2 separate regions of the Homo sapiens genome follow, and region 2 is linked to region 1. Evidence: promoter capture Hi-C in 16 types of primary human blood cells and fetal thymus (Javierre and others, 2016). All regions are on one chromosome and are shown on one strand. Each heading gives the region's core, a stretch centred on a gene start or on the middle of the fragment in contact. The rest is flanking DNA. Distances are from core to core; before and after follow the strand shown.

What was found. The method cuts DNA at HindIII sites, captures the fragments that hold promoters and counts their contacts. A CHiCAGO score of 5 or more calls a contact.
Region 2: a contact is called between a fragment that was not itself captured here and the fragment with the promoter of TDRD6 in region 1, in 1 of 17 cell types (M0 macrophages). The highest score is 5.4, in M0 macrophages.

Annotation. Positions count from the first base shown.
Region 1 is chr6:46,685,825-46,690,519 of GRCh38, reverse strand. It overlaps TDRD6 (tudor domain containing 6), which reads right to left and starts at 2,635. Exons shown (of 4, transcript NM_001010870.3): 1 at 1-2,635. The coding sequence starts at 2,391. It overlaps TDRD6-AS1 (TDRD6 and SLC25A27 antisense RNA 1), which reads left to right and starts at 2,355. Exons shown (of 2, transcript NR_134643.1): 1 at 2,355-2,586. The HindIII fragment of the contact is 3,266 bases long and covers 230-3,495 here.
Region 2 is chr6:46,076,903-46,081,597 of GRCh38, reverse strand. It overlaps a transcript of CLIC5 not described here. Among named protein-coding and RNA genes, the nearest start is that of ENPP4, 51 kb to the left of the region's middle. The HindIII fragment of the contact is 496 bases long and covers 1,777-2,272 here.

The DNA.
Region 1 (4,695 bases), core at 1,386-3,885:
TCCTTGTATGTTCCTGGTCAGCTGACACCAGAAATAGCCAGGGTTTTCAACATAAGACACTCTGACTTCTACTGTACTTCCAACTTCCAGCTCTCCTTTACTAGAGGAGCCTGGCTTAATTTCCAAGCAATTCTGCATAAGAGGAAAATAAACAGATGCTCTTTTCACTTTTTCCTGCACAACTAGTTCAGTTGAACCATTTGTTACAACTGTTGTGTCACTCAAAGCTTTTGAAACAGATGTGGTTTTATTCTCTCTCTTGGCTTTCTGCTCTCCTTCTCCAGTCTTGGCAAAAGGTATTTTGTTACTCTCCGTAGTAAAGTGGTTTGAAACATGCCCTGGGGAGTGGGCATTTACCAGGATATTTTCCTTTGTTTCAAATTCCTGATACTTGGCATATCCAGCTTGGGCAATTACCTTACTAATGTTTTCTTCCCCTGTTCTTGATTCGTCAAGAATCTCAATAACATATTGATGATCCTGTTTATCAAGAATATGGATGACTAATTCTTTGTGGAGCACAGTCTTTTTAAAAAAGGAAACTGCCTCCTGGCTCCAAGTTTTTCCCAAAGGCCAAATATCAGCCAGGGTGCACTTCACAGCCAATATTGGTAGCTGCCTAAACTGAGGAAGCAGCATCCTTACGTCATACCAGTCCACATTTTCCGAATTGCCTCGGTCAACTAAGAATACATCCACACTCTTGTCATCCAATTTGGTGACTATGGCCCTATAATAACCATTTTCTTTCCACTTGACACAGCAAAGGTCATCAGGTTCAGGTTTCAAAACTACACCATCCAGCTTACTGGCAGAGGAATAGAAACCACACATTCTCCTCATCAGCTTACTGAAGGTGACATTGTGTTTCCTCAACCTAATCCAAAACTCAGAAGGATTTTTAACAAACTCTACCTGCGCATCGTAGAAGGCATTCATCTTTAACCTGATAGATCTTAAGGCTGGGAGTGAAATCTCTTCATCTACTTCTTCAGCAGGAGACTGAGACTGAGATGTTTCTGGTTCCTCCTCCTCTGTTGCCTGGCTCTGAAGGACTCGGTCAGCCAAGCAACACGACTGTACTCCAAACACACGGTTCAGATTAATCCCATCTTCTCCATACAGGCTGACATAATACACATGCTCAAAGGAGCAATAAAATTCAATCTTTGCATTCACTGCCTTGCCTAGTATCAGTGTCTTCAGGTCACCGACCTGTGACCGAGACCAGCCTCTCCCACCGTCCCAGAGTCCATACAAAGCACAAGGGTAGGTCACCACCGGCATTCGAAAATATTCAGGCAGCAAGTACCGAAGGCTGCTGCAACTCACTAACTCCTTCCTTCCATAGTCCACATGAAGCACCTGGGCACAGCGCTGGGGCCGAAAAGTCTCAAGCAACAGTGCTCTGTACCAATGTCCATCCAGGCCACAGGATGCACACGGAGAGCCCGGCTTATCTGGGCTCTCCTCCCTCTCCTCCCAGGTGGCACTGGTAGAGTTCTCATCCCCTGTCCCCGTGGAACCCCGGTATACCTGGGCCATGCTCTCGGAGAGGCGGTGGATCTCCTGCGAGACGCTGCGGAGCTGGCAGTGAATGCGGTGGGGATGGCACACTTGGGTTATGACCACGGCCTCCGTCACGCCCAGCTGCAGCTGGGGATAGAAGTAATCCAGACCAGGCTGCTTTTGCTTGAGCGGGACTCGCGAGAGAACCGGGACCCCGGAGCCCACGCTAGCAGTGGCCGCTGTGAGATAGCGCTCCAGCAGCGAACGGAAGAGGCTGTCGGGCACCCGCCGAGCCAGGCCCAGCTCCCGCATCTGTTGGAACACATCAGGCACCTCCAGGAGGACCAGGCGATGGAGCAGCAGCACGTCCAGGACGCACCCGTGCACCTCCTTGCCCTGAAGGTTGCTAAGGAAGTCCACGGCGTCGGCGGGCCAGTGCTGCGGCGGCTCGCCTGAGCCCGCGCCGCAGCCTGCCGGCACCAGGCCCGCTAGCACGCAGCCCAGCACTTCCGAGGGCAAATTGAAGAACTCTCTGCGCCCAGGCGCCAGCGAGCCTGCTCCGGCCGTGATGGTGCGGCCCTCGTCCAGCAGGAAGACACGGCTCTCCTGTGCCTGCCGGCTGACCACGCGGCAGCGGTGCCACAAAAGCCCGACCTGCACCAGGCACAGCTCGCCGGGCGAGGCCGAGGCGCTGCCCAGCGCCCACTGGCCGCGCGTGGCCGCCGCTTCCTGGATTTCCCGGCTCAGCCGCAGGTACTCGCCCCGCCGCTCGCCCACCAGCCCCCACAGCTGCACCGGGATCACATCGGGATGCACGTCCACGAAGGACACCCGCAGGGCCAGCGAGGCCCCCGGCGCCGGCATTCCGGGCGTCGAGCACATCTTGACGGCGCGGCGCGGCCCCCACTTCCGGAAATTAAGGGCCGCGCCTCAGGGCCTCGAAATCCTCCGCGCCGCCTGAAGGCGAGTCCCAGCCAAACTAGGTTCAAAGGACCCAGTGGAGGGGAAGAATGCCGGCGAGGCCTTTTCTCGGCAACTCCCCCGTCGAGGGTCCTCCGGGACTCCCGCCACGGACTGGTAAGACCCGGTAGCCCCTCCAACCGCCCGAGGTCGCGCTTCCGGGCACGCATTTACCTCACTCGGCGCCGCCACTTCCGGCCGCGGAGAGTGGGCGGGGCCAGCCGAGGCCTGGGGTTGGCCTAACGCCTAAGGGCCCAAGGAGCTTGTTGGGACGTTCAGGAGACCCCGAGGTGGGAGGTTTTGGACACAACCTGCATCTCCTCAGAGCGCCTTCGACTCTGGAGGCCGCCGTGTGACGGCCTGACACAGGGCTGCGGTGAGGACCGACCAGAGAGGGATTTCCTTTTCGTCCTCCCAACTACCAGGGATTGAGCACTGGGGGCCAGGCAAGGTACTAGCCAGTGGCGTTCCCGACGGGAACGAGAAACGCAGGAGCCAATGGCACGTTCCTAGGCGTTAAGGCCGGAACTCTAGGAGGGCCCTGGGTGCTGCTGCGGGGCACGGGTGCTCCTGCTGGCTCAGTGTGTCCGTGGACAGCCAGGTGCTCAGCCTCTATTCTTTAACCCTGTTCCATCATCTGAATTGATAAGAGTTGTTATGAGGTTAAAATAACGTGTGAAAGTATATAGCAACTGGTACATATTTCCCTTCCCACACTTAGCTGATACGGGTTCCTTTGCTCCTTTGCTGTCTAACTCTGGCATCCCAATTTTGAAGGCATTTTCATTTACTCACAGAGCTAGCACAGAACTGGATTCATAAAAGGAGGCCAAGAGGAATGGAATCAACATTCCTTCAAGCCCCTGCTGTATATACTAAAATCTTAACAGGATAACCCTTTGAGGCCTCTGTTAAATGTCCAAACCTCCATTTGGAATGGAAAAGTGCAGGCAAACTAGAAGTTTCCAGGATATGTCTACATTAGATTTTTGTTCATTTGCAAAGTTAGACACATCCGTGGAAGCTTCTTATAGTCTGCCTGTACTTTTCCTTTCATTCCACGTTTCGAAATGTCATTACATACAAATACAACAAGGCAGTGCTTCAAATGACCCTGGCCTAACTGTAAATCTCAGTGTCTTCAGTCTGTCCAGATTAGAGGCAACCATGTGCTTCCACATCACCCTATGCTTACTTTTTCACGGCACTTTTCACATTGTGTGGCAACTGTCTGATCTCTATCATCCCACCAGCCGACAGGTTCCCTTTGGCAAGTACCGTTTGTTGGATTCTCGGAATCTAGCTTGGAGTGAAGGCAATGAATATTTGCTAAATGAATATGAATGAATGAATGAATGAATCCAATTTCTCTAAAAGCCAAAGCTTTTCTTTTCCTGAAGAACTCATCCTTGAAAACTCAATTTTCCCATTTTTTTTCTAATTGTTTCATATTCATTATGGAAGAAAAACATTTTATTTAAAAACATCTAGCAAGACCTAGCTCAAACGTCGTTTCCTCGTGACCCTACTATTCAACCTGGCAGAATTGGTTATTCCTTTTTTTTTTTTTTTTTACATACTTCTATATTATTATATTTTGTAGCTCTCTGTTTGCCACAGTAGGAACATCTTAAAAGCAGGAACACTTCTCATTTATTTTTATGTTCTCGATGCCTAGCCAGTGCTGGACTGTTAGCATCCAGTAAATCTTAACAAGAGTAAGCAATCTAACACTATGGCCTTTACAGTGGAAAGAAGGAATTCATTATAAAATGGTCTTATGATCACTTGAAATTGTTTTATCATTACATGGAATAATGGAGACTTTAATCCATCATCTATTTCAGGTTCATGTAGTATAACCAAACTCCTTTGTAGACCACAGGGTTGTAGATATTATGACTTTCTGTATTTCATTTGTCCTCCAACCTCCTTCCATGGCTCATGGCCTTAATCCTAGGACGTCAGGGTATATCACGTGGCCGTTATGGGCTGATCTGAATCCTTTACCCCCATCCACCCAGATTTTCCAATGTCCTACCTTTTCTGTATCTGGAGCAGGTAGCATTAGTTTGTTCTGTCATGCTCTGCTGTTGGACAGGGACTCGGGTTAATTTTAAAAATCAGGTCATTGCACTGTTAAGATTAAGCTCCCCTCATATATCTCCCATACTATATTAAACAAAATATCTTGAGTTTTATAATAAATAAACTTTCCTCCCATTA
Region 2 (4,695 bases), core at 775-3,274, 610 kb after region 1:
CATTGAATGTCACTTTTCAATAAGATAAATGTCCAGTGTCAATAGCCTTTGAAGTCTCTGACCTCTTTTTCCTTACCCATTCTTTAAGCTAGAATTCTAGAAATGCTGCTCTAATTCCCAGTAGAAGATTCCTGGATACAATATTGAAGTCTAAGAGTACAACGAAGTTTTGCCAAGATGCCCATCAAATGTTCTGAAGCTTGTCAACAGGAGTTGCATTGCTTCACAGTTTTCACATGATTTCTAGACATTAAAGTCCCTTTACAACCTAGCTGGGTTGTCACTTCAAGGAGAAAGATGTATGTGGTGTGGCAAAGGGAAGCAGGAATTAGCAGGATAGAGTACCAGATTAAAAAGAATTTGGGGGGCACACATATTCACAGCATCTGTGGATGGCATTGACTGAACAGCCTTGTGCATACAATTTTTTATTGCTTATCCAGACCTGGGCTTATTGCACTAAGAAAACTTTAAATAGTTTTTCCTCGGTTTTATTTTTCTCTTCTGGGCCCTCCAGCTACATTTAAAAGCCCCTTTGAAGACAGAGAATGTGTCTTCTAACGCTTTTGTTGTGCTCAATTCAGCATTCTGTATATGATAGGATTTTAGTGAATGTTTGTTGATGGTGATGATCATGCAGATTTAAGGGGGAAAAATAAAAATTAAAGCCATAAGTCTTTGAGTCCCTAATTTGGGTGGTCTATACTGATGTGTCTATAGGCCAGAGCATTTATCTTCTTTTCCTTCTGCTGTTTAATCACCTAGTGGTGTTTCCAGATAAGAAATGTAAATGGAATTCATTACCTAACCAGGGCATGTAATTCATTTATCACAGGGTATCAATAGGCAAATAATTGTTCTATGTGATAAATTCAGCAGTAAATAGATGAGAGGCCATTGTGAAGAATTGTAGCTCTCCACTGAATTGCAGGGGTTCTTGAATGTTGTCAACATTTGGAGGCAGTTGGAGGAGGGAGCTCTATTGATGAAAAATGGCTACATATTCAAAATTTCAGTGTATACCAGGAAGATAATTCAATTCAATCTCTGGCTTACCCAAAGAATCTTGGAGTTACTGCCAATGAGGAAATCCCCAGGGTCTAATAAAAATATCTTTAGGAGTGAAGGAGTTAACTGAGTGTGTAAGCTTTATCTTCTGTCCAATGGACTTGTGGTTTGCTTATAAAACTCTCCAGTAAATAATTGTTAGAGACCTGTCATTGATAGCAGTTGCTAGTTGCTGCCTTTTAAGAGCTCGTTGATTCCTCTGCAAGGTGGTGCAGCATCCTCTGTCCCTTCATTCATTTCAGATCTACTCAGGTCTCCCTGTAAACAGATCTCTCGGATCAATAAGCATGAATGACGAAGACTACAGCACCATCTATGACACAATCCAAAATGAGAGGACGTATGAGGTTCCAGACCAGCCAGAAGAAAATGAAAGTCCCCATTATGATGATGTCCATGAGTACTTAAGGCCAGAAAATGATTTATATGCCACTCAGCTGAATACCCATGAGTATGATTTTGTGTCAGTCTATACCATTAAGGGTGAAGAGACCAGCTTGGCCTCTGTCCAGTCAGAAGACAGAGGCTACCTCCTGCCTGATGAGATATACTCTGAACTCCAGGAGGCTCATCCAGGTGAGCCCCAGGAGGACAGGGGCATCTCAATGGAAGGGTTATATTCATCAACCCAGGACCAGCAACTCTGCGCAGCAGAACTCCAGGAGAATGGGAGTGTGATGAAGGAAGATCTGCCTTCTCCTTCAAGCTTCACCATTCAGCACAGTAAGGCCTTCTCTACCACCAAGTATTCCTGCTATTCTGATGCTGAAGGTTTGGAAGAAAAGGAGGGAGCTCACATGAACCCTGAGATTTACCTCTTTGTGAAGGTAAGGTCTGCCTCTGACAGGCATACCCTGTTCATGCAGATATTATGGCTGGTGTTTTATTTTGCTCTGAATGACCAGGGAAAGATTCATAATGCCATGGTCCTTGGATCTCAATACATATTCAGGAGTCGGAGGGACTAAATCAGTCATTAGAGTGTACTCAGCTCTTCACAAAATTAGAGGAATTGGAAGGTGCATTTAAAGCACGTATTTAATCACTGACTTTTACATACCATGGGCAAAGTATTTTTCAAAACGGTTCACATAAGTGAGCCATAACTGCTGCCCAAATCCTTGCCATTGTGGCTGACATTAAGTACATTTTTCTGTCTGGTTAAATTTCCTTTGTCAACATGTTTAAAAGTGAAACCAAAGCTTGTGAAAGAAAGACCTTCTTGTGCTTCTAAGGTCACAGATTTGTCAGATAGGTGGTCAATAAAGGCTATCTCTGTCACTAGCTTGCCCCTTTGGCACCAATATAACTAAAAATTTGATGAAGTCAAATGATTTCAGTAGTAGTAAGACACTACCAGTGTTAATGTTTAATGCTTACGATATCTAAACAGAACCTTGGTGATCTTTGTATTAGATGATAAAGTAATAAAGTTATGGTTATAAATATTATCAAAATGTAAAGTGTTTCAGACCTAAACAAATCATCTTTATTAATCAAGATGGCAGGCCCTTTTTCCCCAACATCTCCCCCACAATATTCATATTTATGTGATTTTTAGAAATGTTTTCACATTTATTATATAAATATATTTGTAAATGCTGCTCTTTCCTGCCAATAAAAATGATTATAAACCTACAGAAACCATAGTTCATACTCATTTCTCTCTTCCCCAGTTCCCAGTAACATTTCTGATGAAACACACTTTACTAATTTTGCCCTTTGTTGTCTTGTAATTTGTTCTTTTCTCTAATTGTTTTGTGTGTAAATCATGGATCACTTATTCTACTACAAGGTCCTTTTAAAAATAATCTAGTATAGTGCTTGGTTCACACATACATACCAGACACACATTGCCTTGTACTCTGCTGAGCATTTGGGGGGAAAGGGCTGTGCAAGACAAGGCCCTTGCTCTTAAGTAATGAATAATATGGTGACAGAGACAGACTTGCACTCAATGTATTCTAATACAATATAGTAAGAGATGAAACAGAGGAGTGGGTGGAGTGTGTGGGTGTTCAGAGAAGGAGTGCTGAGATGTGTACTGAGTTTGGAGCAGCTCCACGGAGGAGGTGATGTTAGAACAGGTGCATTCACGCAGTTTTCTGACCTCCATATCCACATCATCACTGTCACACTGTGCAAACAAACTTTTTTTTTTTTCTTTTTTGAGACAGAGTCTCACTGTGTCACCCAGGCTGGAGTGCAATGGCATGATCTCAGCTCACTGCAACTTTCACCTCCCAGATTCAAATGATTCTCCTGCTTCAGCCTCCCGAGTAGCTGGGATTACAGGCATGTGCCACCTGGTCTGGCTAATTTTTGAATTTTTAGTAGAGATGGGGTTTTGCCATGTTGGCCAGGCTGGTCTCAAACTCCTAACCTCAAGTGATCCACCCGCCTCAACCTCCCAGAGTGCTGGGATTACAGACGTGAGCCACAGCTCCTGGCCACAGACTTTTTTAAAGTGAGGACTAGATGTATTTTTTTTTTCTCATGGCAGAAGCATCCATGCAACCTGTGACAGGCAAAGTGGGTCATCACCATGATCATCATCATGGACCCATCTGACATTATTTCTAAATTTGGCTAAGTGTTTATCTCACTAGAAATTAGCCTATGGCTGGTATTGAGCAAAAACAGAAGTAGTAGGAAAAAGAAGTGTTGGTACTTCCTGGCAGTACCAGCAACAGGGAAAATTGATTGACTATAACATGTAATTCCTAAATTACTTAAAATTTCCTAAAGCAAATATTAGATTTAACTCTTTAAGTTTACATTCTTTTTAGCATAATTGTGTGAACTGAAAGGCCATAGAGTGTCCCACTGACCTCAGCTTCTATGCATAAACTCCTTTTTAAGGATATTCAGTAATAAAAAGAGCGGCAGTTATAATCCCTGCTTCCTAGCTCCACACTCGGCCCTATCTTCACTGAAGTTCCTTACCCAATGTTGAATGGAAGTAGAATATATAAAATCGAGTAAAACAGGGCCTTCTCTGCTTGAGTGAAACTGTAGGGTGTGAGTGTGACCTCTCAGGCCTTTTCCTCTTCCCTGCTCTGTGGAAGGGATGTTGGTCCCCCACACTGGAGGGAGCTCTGTGGCTCACTGTCTTCCTAGTAGGGCTTACGGCTTTTCAGTTCTGGATGTTCTTCTCCTGGGCTGTTTTAGTGTGGACCACTGGGCTGCATTGATACTTGTATTCATTTGTGTATGTTTTCACCTGTTCTAGACATGTTGGTGAGAATGTCATGCAGGTTTGTAAGTATATGTTTAACCAACATTTTATTGAGGCTTAATCATTTCAGAGTGTTGACCAATTATTTAATTAAGTAACATATGTCATTCATTTATTCATTCAACAGATCTTATGTCAGGTGCTGGGTTTACACCAATGAAGAAAAAAAAAGTCTCGTCTCCCATGCACTTTTTTTTTTTTGGGACGGAGTTTCACTCTGCCACCCAGGCTGGAGGGCAGCTCACTGCAACCTCTGCCTCCCGAGTAGCTTAGATTACAGGCATGCGCCACCATGCCCAGGTAATTTTTGTATTTTTAGTAGAGACGGGTTTTCACTATGTTGTTCAGGATGGTCTCGATTTCTTGACTTCAGTGATCCACCCACCTCG